Regions from separate parts of the Homo sapiens genome. Here all the other regions are linked to region 3. Evidence: promoter capture Hi-C in human tissues and cell types (Jung and others, 2019). All regions are on one chromosome and are shown on one strand. The core of a region is centred on a gene start or on the middle of the fragment in contact, and the rest is flanking DNA. Distances in the headings are between cores, read along the strand shown.

Region 1 (3,612 bases), core at 290-2,789, 44 kb before region 3:
CACTTTGGGAGGCCGAGGCAGGTGGATCATGAGGTCAGGAGTTTGAGACCACCCTCGCCAACATGGTGAAACCCTGTCTCTACTAAAAAAAAAAAAAAAAAAAAAAAACCAAAAATTAGCCCGGTGTGGTGGCATGCCCCTGTAATCCCACCTACTCGGGAGGCTGAGGTAGGAGAATCACTTGAACCCAGGAGGCGGAGGTTACAGTGGGTGGAGAACGCGCCATCACACTCCAGCCTGGGCAGCAGCAAGACTCCGTCTCAAGGCAAAAAAAAAAAAAAAGGACTTTGTTTGATAAAGAAATGCCACCTTTGTTAATTGCAGTGTCTTCTTTGTTTAAATATACTTTGGATGTTTTTCAGGTTAACTCTTCCAACATCCCTGGTTTTCTTCTCCTTTGAGTCTTTGATTATTATGTGGTATGTAATCACAGATTCAGATGGATTGAAACATAACCGGTGTAAACAACCTAGATGCTTTGAGGTAGAGCTAAATAACTCTTGAAGATTTGAAATGTGAGGAGAGAAGTAAATATCGGCTCAGAAGGGAAGAGATTTTTTTTTTTAAAGTTTTACCTCACTCCTCTTTAACTGCTTGTTTGCCATTACTTCCCACCCTGAATCCACATCCCACCACTGACACAAATACACACATTTGTCTGGGAGTAAGATGTAAGGTCAAACTGCTTAACTTGATTTCTTTGTCTTTACCTTAATTAGAGAGACCTTAGCACATACCTGTAATACATCATAAGTAAATAAAGAACTTCCTCAGTAAAGTCATTTTAAAGCATACTTTTTTCTTTGAATTTCCAATTTTTTTTGCCATATGCTGAAAAGCATAGTGCCCTGTGTTTGAATTACTTTTTGCTTAAATTAATTGTAATTTAGCCTTTTGTTAATATCAGTGAAGAGCCTCCAGTAGGGGGCACTCAAGACTAATAGGTTGCATAGTTCCTTATGTTTTTAACAGAAATAGCTTCACCTTTTCCGACTAAAAAAGCAATCCAAACAATAACATCAAATAGTAGGTAGTGTTTAAGAAGAGTGATGTAAATATAAACGTCCTAACATGGAAGAAGATATATACATATATGTTATTGAGTGAAGAAATTTAAGTTGTATATAAAATATATTTAATGTTACCTCAGTTTAGAGAAAACTTATAATTATATGTATGCATTTATATTTGTATATATGAAGAGAAAGATCTGAAAGGACCAAAACATTAACAGTGGCTACTTCTTTTTTATTTTTTTGGAGACAGAATCTTACTGAAGTGCAGTGGTACAATCAGGGCTCGCCACAGCCTCGACATCTCGGGCTCAAGTGATCCTGCCACCTCAGCCTCCCTAGTAGCTGAGACTAGAGGCACATGCCACCATGCCCGGCTAATTTTTGTATTTTTTTTTTTGTAGAGATGGGGTTTCACCATGTTGCCCAGCTGGTCAGAAGGCGGAGGTTGGGCTCAAGCGATCATCTGCCGGCCTCAGCCTCCTAAAGTACTAGGATTACATGCATAAGCCACTGTGCCCAGACTTGGCTTCTTCAAAGGATGGGATTTTGTAGGGTTAGGGACACACTTTCCCTCTCTTACTTTATAATTTCTTTGCTTGAAGGTTTTTTTTCCCAATTAACATATATATAACATGTATGGCTTTTGATAATGTATTTTATAATTTTAAGGCCAGATGTGGTAACTCACACCTGTAATCCCAGCACTTTTGGAAGGCCAAAGTGGGAGGACCGCCTGAAGCCAGGAGTTTGAGACCAGCCTGAACAACAAAGCTTGACCCCATCTCTAAAAAAAAAAATACATAAAATAAGAATAATTGGCCGGGCACGGCGGCTCACATCTGTAATGCCAGCACTTTGGGAGACTGAGGTGGGCGGATCATGAGGTCAGGAGTTCGAGACCAGCCTGACCAACATGGTGAAACCCCATCTCTACTAAAAATACAAAAAATAGTCAGGCGTGGTGGCATGCCTGTAATCCCAGCTACTCAGGAGGCTGAGGCAGGGGAATCATTTGAACCCAGAAGGCGGAGGTTGCAGTGAGCCAAGATTGCGCCACTGCACTCCATCCTGGGCGAGAGAGCAACACTCCATCTCAAAAAAAAAAAAAAAAAAAAAGAAATTTTAAGTTATGTATGCTTTTTGTAAAAGAAAAAAAAAGTTCTAAACAATAAAAAATGTAGGAAGCGATTATTCATTACTCAGAGATTGTGTAAATATTGTTGTCTGGTGTAAATATTTTTGCAGACTTCATGCATATACAAACTTACGTTTTAGAAAATGAGGTCATAGGCCAGGTGTGGTGGCTCACGCCTGTAATCCCAGCACTTTGGGAGGCCAAGGCGGGCAGATCACGAGGTCAGGAGATCGAGACCATCCTGGCTAACACGGTGAAACCCCATCTCTACTAAAAATACAAAAAAGTAGCTAGGCTTGATGGCGGGCGCCTGTAATTTCAGCTACTCGGGAGGCTGAGGCAGGAGAATGGCATGAACCCGGGAGGCGGAGCTTGCAGTGAGCTGAGATACGCCACTGCACTCCAGCCTGGGCGACAGAGCAAGACTCCGTCTCAAAAAAAAAAGAAAATGAGGTCATGCCACCGCAGTGGCTCACGCCTGTAATCCCAGCACTTTGGGAGGCCAAGGTGGGAGGATCACTTGAGCCCATGAGTTTGAGACCAGCCTGGGAAATATAGTGAGACTTCATCGCTACAAATTTTTAAAAAAATCTTAGCCAAGCATAGTGGCATGCACCTATAGTTCTAGCTACTTAAGCGGCTGAGGTGGGAGTATTGCTTGAGGCTGGGAGGCAAAGGTTGCAGTGAGCTGAGATCGCACCACTGCACTCCAGCCTAGGCAGCAGAGCAAGACCCTGTCTTCAAAAACACAAAAAGAAATGAAAATGAGGTCATATTATACATGCTATTATGCAAAGCAGTTTTCTGTTTTTCACTTAATATATTGTGAACATCTTTCCATGTATACTACTTTTTTTTTCCATGTACACTACTTATAAGTCTGCTTTACACTAACAGCTGCATAGTATTTTGCTGTATGACTGTAGCATAGGTTTTTTTTGTATTTGTATTTGTTTTTGGGTTTTCTTTTTTATGAGACAGGGTCTCGCTCTGTCATCCAGGCTAGAGTGCAGTGGCATGATCTTGGTTCACTGTAGCCTCAATCTCCTGGGCTTAAGCAATCCTTTCACCTCAGCCTCTTGAGTAACTGAGACCACAGGCACACACCACCACACCCAGCCAATTTTTAAATTTTTTGTAGAGGCTGGGCACGGTGGCTCACACCTATAACCCACCACTGTGGGAGGCCAGGGCAAGCAGATCACTTGAGGTCAGGAGTTCAAGACCAGCCTTGCCAACATGGTGAAACCTTGTCTCTACTAATAATACAAAAATTAGCCAGGTGTGTTGGTGCTCACCTGTAGTCCTAGCTACTTGGGAGGCTGAGGCAGGAGAATCACTTGAACTCGGGAGGTGGAGGTTGCAGTGAGCCAAGATCACACTGTTGCACTCCAGCCTGGGAGACACAGTGAGACTCTAGCTCCAAAATAAATAAATAAATAAGTTTTTTGTAGAGATGAG
Region 2 (3,801 bases), core at 610-3,109, 35 kb after region 3:
GTTCAATTTGTTTCTGCTCCAATTATCTGCTGCTGTTTAGGAGGAGGTGGACAGAAAAGAATTTCTCATATTCAAGGATATAATAGCAATGAACGTATTTTTTGTCAGTGCAGAATTTAAAGACTAAGACTTTAAGTCTGATCCTCTTCCTTTTTCTGCCGCCTCAGTCTCTGGCAACAATAGCAGGGAGTTAGGGCAGACAAATTGAACATTCCTTTTCATGCTTTATACAGATTGAAACTGATCAACTAAAGAGTTAAAGAAGTGAATTCAGTGACTTGACCTTTACTTGAAATGATTTTTAATAATTTTAGTCAGTGATCCAGAACTCACCTAAGCAGCCAGATTAGCTGAGTTAATCCTAATAATGAATTGACAGATGCTTCAGTTACACTGCCTTCAGATCCTCAAAATTGAGAATATTCATAATGGCATATCACAAAATGGACTATCAAGCCTAATACATAAAATGTACATCTGTTTTGGACTGAAAGATTGACTAATAAAAGCAATTAAGTGATCTTTTCTCTAGAAGTTTGTTTATACTGACTTCTACACCTCCAGCTCTACACTGTTACCAGAGCTCAAGCCCGTAATTCTAAGAACATAAGAAACATTTTACTTTTCATTTCAGTATATCCAATAAAGATTCTGCCTTGTTCCACATCAAATAGCACCTCTTTAGGTTTCTTCAGGCTCATACCTCATTCTTTTCCATCCCACCCCTATTTAGTTATTCATCTATTTCTGTCACTTTTTCCTTTGAAACATGTCTCAGATTTAGTCTTCATTCTTGCTGCGGCCACCCCAGTTCAGTCTTCATTACTCATTGCCTTCTAACTTTATTTTTCTGATTACATTCTTCTTTCTAGTAGTAGGTTAAATTTACACTGCTTTCATCATGTGTCTCCGTGAGGTAATCCCAGGAGCTCTGCAAAATTCACTAGCTAATCTCTGACTTAACATAGGATGTAGTATCAGAAGAATCAGCTATGATCCACTAGTGCTTTTCTTGCTCACTTGACAGCTGCCTGCTATTTGAACAAAAGGCATCTTTATTTTCATTCTTTCTTAGATGACTCTCCGATGTGATCCTTTGCACATATATATGGATCACATCTGAGAGTCATTTATATATATATATATATATATAAAATGCAAATACCTGCCTATTATTACCTTTTGATGTGACACACAAGAACACTGTTGCCTGTGTCAGACATTCAGCAAGCATTATAGTTTAGTCCCATAATCTCATTTTATCAAGAAGCCTAATTTTGTAGGCTTTGGTTGTCTCATTCTGCCACCAGAAAGTAAATTTCTTGAAGGCAGGCACTATAGAATTTTCATTCTAGCACAATTTTTGACAGTTTTTATGCATTTTTGAAATTTTTATTGAATAAATAAGTTAGTTGAGCAAATATTTATTGCATTTATTGAGGGCTTACTCTGTTCCAGCAACTGTGATGATGTAAGCAGCACTGAAAAGGAGCAGATATGGTTCCTTAGCGTGATCATAGTTCATTACAGCTTCAAACTCCTGGGCTCAAGGGATCCTTCTGCCTCAGCCTCCTGAGTAGCTAGGACTACAGGTGTATGCCACCATGCCTAGCTAATTAAAATTTTTTTTTTTTTGGATAGCCAGGGTCTTACCATGTTGCCCAGGCTGATCTGGAACTTCTGGCCTCAAGCAATCCACCCACTGTGGCCTTTCAAAACTGGTGACATGAGCCACTGTGCCCAGCGCGGCTCTTGTCTTGAGTTTATGATCTAGTGAGAAAGGCAGGTATTAAACAAATACATGGCCAGTTATGATGGTCTATAATGGACATCATCAGTTCCTTCTCTTTGTGTATATGCATGCTATTTTTCATGTCTAGAAATAGAGTCTAATTCCCCTCTCCTTGAATCTGGGCTGGTCAATAGAATGTGGCAGAAATAAACATTTTGGAACTTTGAGGCTAGACCTTAAGGCTGTAAAGCTTGTGTCTGGGTCTCTGGAAATATTTTTCTTGAGATAATCCCTCTTAAAACCCAGTCACTCTGTTGCAAGAAGCTCAAGCCACATGGAGAGGCCTTGTGTAGGTAACGCTGATCAATAGCCCCAGCTGAACTTCAATGGCCAGAATCAACTGGTCCTGTGAGTGACCCATTGTGAACATCCAGTCCAGTCCAGCCTTTAGATGACTTCATGCCCCCTACTGTCTTACTGCATTCATGTGTGAGAAGATCGAGAACTACAGATCTGAGCTTTGTCAATCCACAAAATCTTGAGAGATAATAAATTTTTTTTTTTTTGAGATGGAGTCTCACTCTGTTGCCCAGGCTGGAGTACAGTGGCACCACCACAGCTCACTGCAACCTCCACCTCCTGGGCTCAAGTGATTCTCCTGCCTCAGCCTCCGGAGTAACTGGGACTACAGGTGCCCGCCACCCTGCCCGGCTAATTTTTTTGTATTTTTAGTAGAGATGGGGTTTCACCATGTTGGCCAGGCTGGTCTTGAACTCCTGACCTCAAGTGATCCACCCACCTCAGCCTCCCAAAGTGCAGGGATTACAGGTGTGAGCCACCGTGCCTGGCCTGAGAATGAATTGTTTTAAGCCACTAAATTTGAGTGGTTTATTATGCAGCAGTATAATACATTTTGGTTATCTAACCAGAATGTAAATTATCAGATTATCAGATTATGATAAATGCTATAATGGACATGAACAGGAATAAAAGGAAAACCTAATTTAGATGATTCGGAGATGGCAACATACAATTGTTTAATAATGTTTTGTCTTTCTGCTCAACTCTGCATTTGGTGAGAGCAGATACTGTCCTATTTTTAACTGTGTCCCCAGCACGTGGCATATATGCTCAATATCTTCTGAAGTAATAACGAAGACCTTTTATTAGTGTCTCAGAGAAGTCCGTAACTCCAAAAAGGTTAAGAATTACTTTATTAACAGCAAAACTTTCCTCTTTATCCACTTGTATAGGAATACCACATCCTACCCAAGCACAAAATTCCAGGTTTTCTGGACTGAATACCTACACCCAGGATCGATGTGAATAGGGCAGTATTTTCCTGCCAGAGGTTATAGGTGATGCCTTTGAGTTTTGGGGATTTAATCATAATGGGCTACATCACATGTATGGAGGTTACGCAGGTAATGAGAGGGACTGGGGCCAAGGAGCACACAGATGAGTCTACTTAATGGAAGAAAACTAAGCCTCAGATGAAGTCTGTTATTCTATAAATAGCCTCTGTATTCCTTAACCCTTTTTCCTGTTATTCCTTCCATGAACTTTCTGCTTAATTTCTTTCATTTTAATGTGTTTCAGGGACTGATTCTCCTCTAAGGTTGCACCTAACACTTTTCTTCCTTGCCCATTTCTTCCCTATACACCATTCTTATTCCCATCTTTGTGTCTTTCTTATTATGTGTTTCTCCCATTTTCTAGGGTATTTTTCCTTCTTTCTGCTTATGTAAATTTAATCTTTTGGGAGTATTTTAAGTTTACTTCACTGGAACTTTCCTTGAAGATTCCAAGTTAAATATGCCTCTCCTTCCTGAGCTTCTATTTTACTTATTTGTTCCCAGGACATGACTTTTGTCATATCCTTTTGTATCTTGCCTTATACAATAATAATTATTATAGTAATAATAATTATTACTATATGATATTATATAGTAATATTATATAGTATAATATATTGTAACTAATTATTATTACCACAATAATGATTACTATTATTTTTGAGACAGAGTCTGACTCTGCCACCAAGGCTGGAGTGCAATGGTGTGATCTTG
Region 3 (3,412 bases), core at 417-2,916:
ATTATTGGCCGGGCACGGTGGCTCACGCCTGTAATCCCAGCACTTTGGGAGGCCAAGGTAGGCGGATCATCTGACATCAGGAGTTCGAGACCAACCTGACCAACATGGTGAAACCCTGTCTCTACTAAAAAGACAAAAAAATTAGCCGGGCGTGGTGGCACATGCCTGTAATCCCAGCTACTCAGGAGGGTGAGACAGGAGAATCGCTTGAACCCAGGAGGCAGAGGTTGCAGTGAGCCGAGATCCTGCCATTGCACTACAGCCTGGGCAACAAGAGCAAAACTCCGTCTCAAAAAAAAAAGAAAGAGAAAAGAAAAAATACATATTATATAATGAAGTATAATATGCATTATGCAGAGACTAAAGAGGGGAGTCTTGGTTGCCTGAAAACTAATGGGTAAAATCCATTGAAGTGGGTGAATCCAGTGAAAAGACCTGGATTGAGTCCTTGTTGCATCCCTTGCATGTGACCTTGAGCAAAGTCACCATGTCTTTAAGGCTGTTTTCTCACCTATAAAATGGAATAATTGGCCGGCGTGGTGGGTCACACCTGTAATCCCAGCACTTTGGGAGGCTGAGGCAGGCAGATCACCTGAGGTCAGGAGTTTGAGACCAGCCTGGCCAATATGGTGAAACCCCGTCTCTACTAAAAATACAAAAGTTAGCCGGGGGTGGTGGCAGGCCCCTGTAATCCCAGCTACTTGGGAGGCTGACGCAGGAGAATCACTTGAACCCGAGAGGCGGAGGTTGCAGTGAGCTGAGATCGCGCCACTGCACTCCAGCCTGGGTGACAAGAGCGAGATTGTCTCAAAAAAAAAAAAATCATAACGGTAACGTCCTATACCTCAAGGGACTGTGGTAAGAATTAAAAGGGTGAAATCAATGTGTAAACTATGAAGCCCAATAGAAATAAGGTGTTATACAGACAATTGCACTATTGAATCTCCGGAGACAGAGTTGAGTTAAGGAAAAATGCACTTTCGGAAAGCTTTGGCGACTGAACGACCTGAGTTCTCCAACGCCAAGGCTGGAAGTTTGGAGACCTTGAAACAAGTAAATTACCATTAATATCATAATTTTCAGTTTCCTTTTAAGAAATGAGAGTAACACCACTTTCTTCACAGAATCAAGTGAGAGAGAACCTATGCAAAGGAACTTATCACTTGGTAGGTATTTGAAGCTCCCTCTGCCTGAAAACTACTTATTCAAAGACTGCAACAAAAGGTGTTCACAGTGTGGTATCTTTCAAAACATACGCTAAGGCAAGGAACAGATAAGGAAATGGAAGTACATCCAATTGGGATCCAAGCAACCCAAGTGGGAACCAACAGCTAGACTTGGAGATGTCTTAGCTCACTCTTAACCACGTGAGGGTAGGGTATCCAACCAATAAAGACATTCAGAGTTGGAGAGCGGGCGAGTGGAGTGTCCTTTAGACTCCGCGGACTCGACGGGAGGGACCCTGCAATGCTTAATTAGAACCGGTTGCCATGGCGACAGTCTCTAGGCAGCGTGGGCTGAGCTCTCCGTAGGAATAAAGGGTGGGCCGCCGCTGGACCCTGCGCGCGCCCGCCACCAACTTTCCCTCCAGATCCGAGAGGGGCGGCGCGCTCCGCCCCCGGGCCGCGCACGTCGGTGCTCGGCGGCGCGCACGCCTGCGGGAGCCCTCTCCAGGCAACCTAGTGCTGATCGCTCGTGCCGGTGCGGCCGTTAACCGCCCTTGCCGGAGCCCTAGGCTCAAAAGCAGCCCCTTACCCTTCCTGGGCTTCCCCCAACCCCTTTCCCGGTCTGCCCTGGGGCATGAGCAGCGATGGCCGGCTGCATCCCTGAGGAGAAAACTTACCGGCGCTTCCTGGAGCTATTCCTGGGCGAGTTTCGCGGACCGTGCGGCGGCGGCGAGCCGGAGCCGGAACCCGAACCCGAACCCGAACCCGAACCCGAGTCCGAGCCCGAGCCCGAACCTGAACTGGTAGAAGCTGAGGCGGCCGAGGCTTCGGTAGAGGAACCCGGGGAGGAGGCGGCCACGGTAGCCGCGACGGAGGAGGGGGACCAGGAGCAAGACCCGGAGCCCGAGGAGGAGGCGGCGGTTGAGGGTGAGGAGGAGGAGGAGGGCGCGGCGACGGCGGCGGCAGCCCCGGGGCACTCGGCCGTGCCGCCGCCGCCGCCCCAGCTGCCGCCTTTGCCCCCGCTCCCGCGACCGCTGTCAGAGCGCATCACCCGCGAGGAGGTGGAGGGCGAAAGCCTGGACCTGTGCCTGCAGCAGCTCTACAAATAGTTAAGTAGCTGGGCTTGGCTGGTGGTGGGCCCGCGGTCCCCACCGCGCCGGCCTCGGACGCGGCTCCCTCGGCCCCTCAAACTGCTCTCTTTTCTGCTCCTCTCCCCCGCACCCGCGCCTGCCGCCGCTGAAAGCGCCCCCGCTGCTCGGACCCGGGCGGTCGGCTGAGAGCTGCCCACGCCCGCCTCGGCCCCCACGCCCGCCTCGGCCCCCACGCCTCCTACCCGGCCTTGAAGCCGCTCTCCTGAGCCCCGGCGCCCTCCCGCCGGGCCCGGGCCCCTCATCCCCTTTCACCTCGGCCCCCAGCTTCTAGCTCCACTTCACGCAACCTTTCCCTTTCCTGCCTGGAAAGGTCCTTCCTCCCAGGCTTGAGCTCCCTCTTCTTCCCAGATCCCTTCTTTCTCCGGGAGGTTTCCTCCCACCCCAGTCTGTCTTTTCCCGGGCTGAGTGCCTTGTTGTTTGGCGGCAGAGACGCGACTCCTTTCTAGACTGAGCTGCGAGGTGCCTCCTGCGTAACTGCAACAATGATGGTTATACCGGCCCCGTATCCAGATGAGAGAATGGAGTAGATTTTCCGTCAGGTGCTCAGTGTTGAAAGTGAAGGGCTTTTTAGATGTTTTCACACAGGGAAGCCTAGTCTCTTAGTTTAGACATTTGACATTCCATAATTGAGGGAAGTGGGAAGGAATTGAGAGGGAAGGGTAAGCAAAATTTTGCAAGCAAGCCTTCGGGTGAAAGAGCCATAATTCATTAAAGTGGAAAAGTCAGGCTGTTTTGATTAAATTGCAATTAGGTGCAGTATTTTCAGTCCATTAAGTAGATGGGATGGGGTGGGGAGAAAGCAGATGGCTTAGCTACACAGATGAAAGTCTAAAATAGAAAGGTCAAGGCTTTGCCTTTCATCCCAGTTCTGGTTTTTATAGGCCTGAAATAGAAACGGTTTACAATTGCGTTTCTCAATGGAATTGTTCCGAAATAATGACAGAGGAGAATACTAGTAAGTCTCTGAAAACATTGGTAAACCTGGGAAGTCTTTTGCCATTCAGCTGATAGTTGTAATGAAAGGTGTTACTCTGGCCACCCAAAAAGTTTACTACTGCAAGATTCGCTGTAATTAAGTTCAAACTCACTTTTGGG

Evidence for each region. Contacts are between HindIII fragments. The study calls those that stand out against the background at their distance.
Region 1: a contact is called between a fragment that was not itself captured here and the fragment with the promoter of PPM1E in region 3, in 1 of the 25 tissues and cell types used here (pancreas).
Region 2: a contact is called between a fragment that was not itself captured here and the fragment with the promoter of PPM1E in region 3, in 1 of the 25 tissues and cell types used here (adrenal gland).

Annotation. Positions count from the first base shown.
Region 1 is chr17:58,710,234-58,713,845 of GRCh38, forward strand. The region is part of intron 5 of RAD51C (RAD51 paralog C); the gene reads left to right. Among named protein-coding and RNA genes, the nearest start is that of RAD51C, 19 kb to the left of the region's middle. The HindIII fragment of the contact is 4,613 bases long and covers 1-3,612 here.
Region 2 is chr17:58,788,610-58,792,410 of GRCh38, forward strand. The region is part of intron 1 of PPM1E (protein phosphatase, Mg2+/Mn2+ dependent 1E); the gene reads left to right. Among named protein-coding and RNA genes, the nearest start is that of PPM1E, 35 kb to the left of the region's middle. The HindIII fragment of the contact is 7,145 bases long and covers 1-3,801 here.
Region 3 is chr17:58,754,188-58,757,599 of GRCh38, forward strand. It overlaps PPM1E (protein phosphatase, Mg2+/Mn2+ dependent 1E), which reads left to right and starts at 1,667. Exons shown (of 7, transcript NM_014906.5): 1 at 1,667-2,274. The coding sequence starts at 1,811. LOC105371843 (a long non-coding RNA gene) reads right to left here and starts at 1,923. Exons shown (of 3, transcript XR_007065866.1): 1 at 1,844-1,923. RefSeq lists silencers at 1,486-1,675, 1,675-1,823. The HindIII fragment of the contact is 13,854 bases long and covers 1-3,412 here.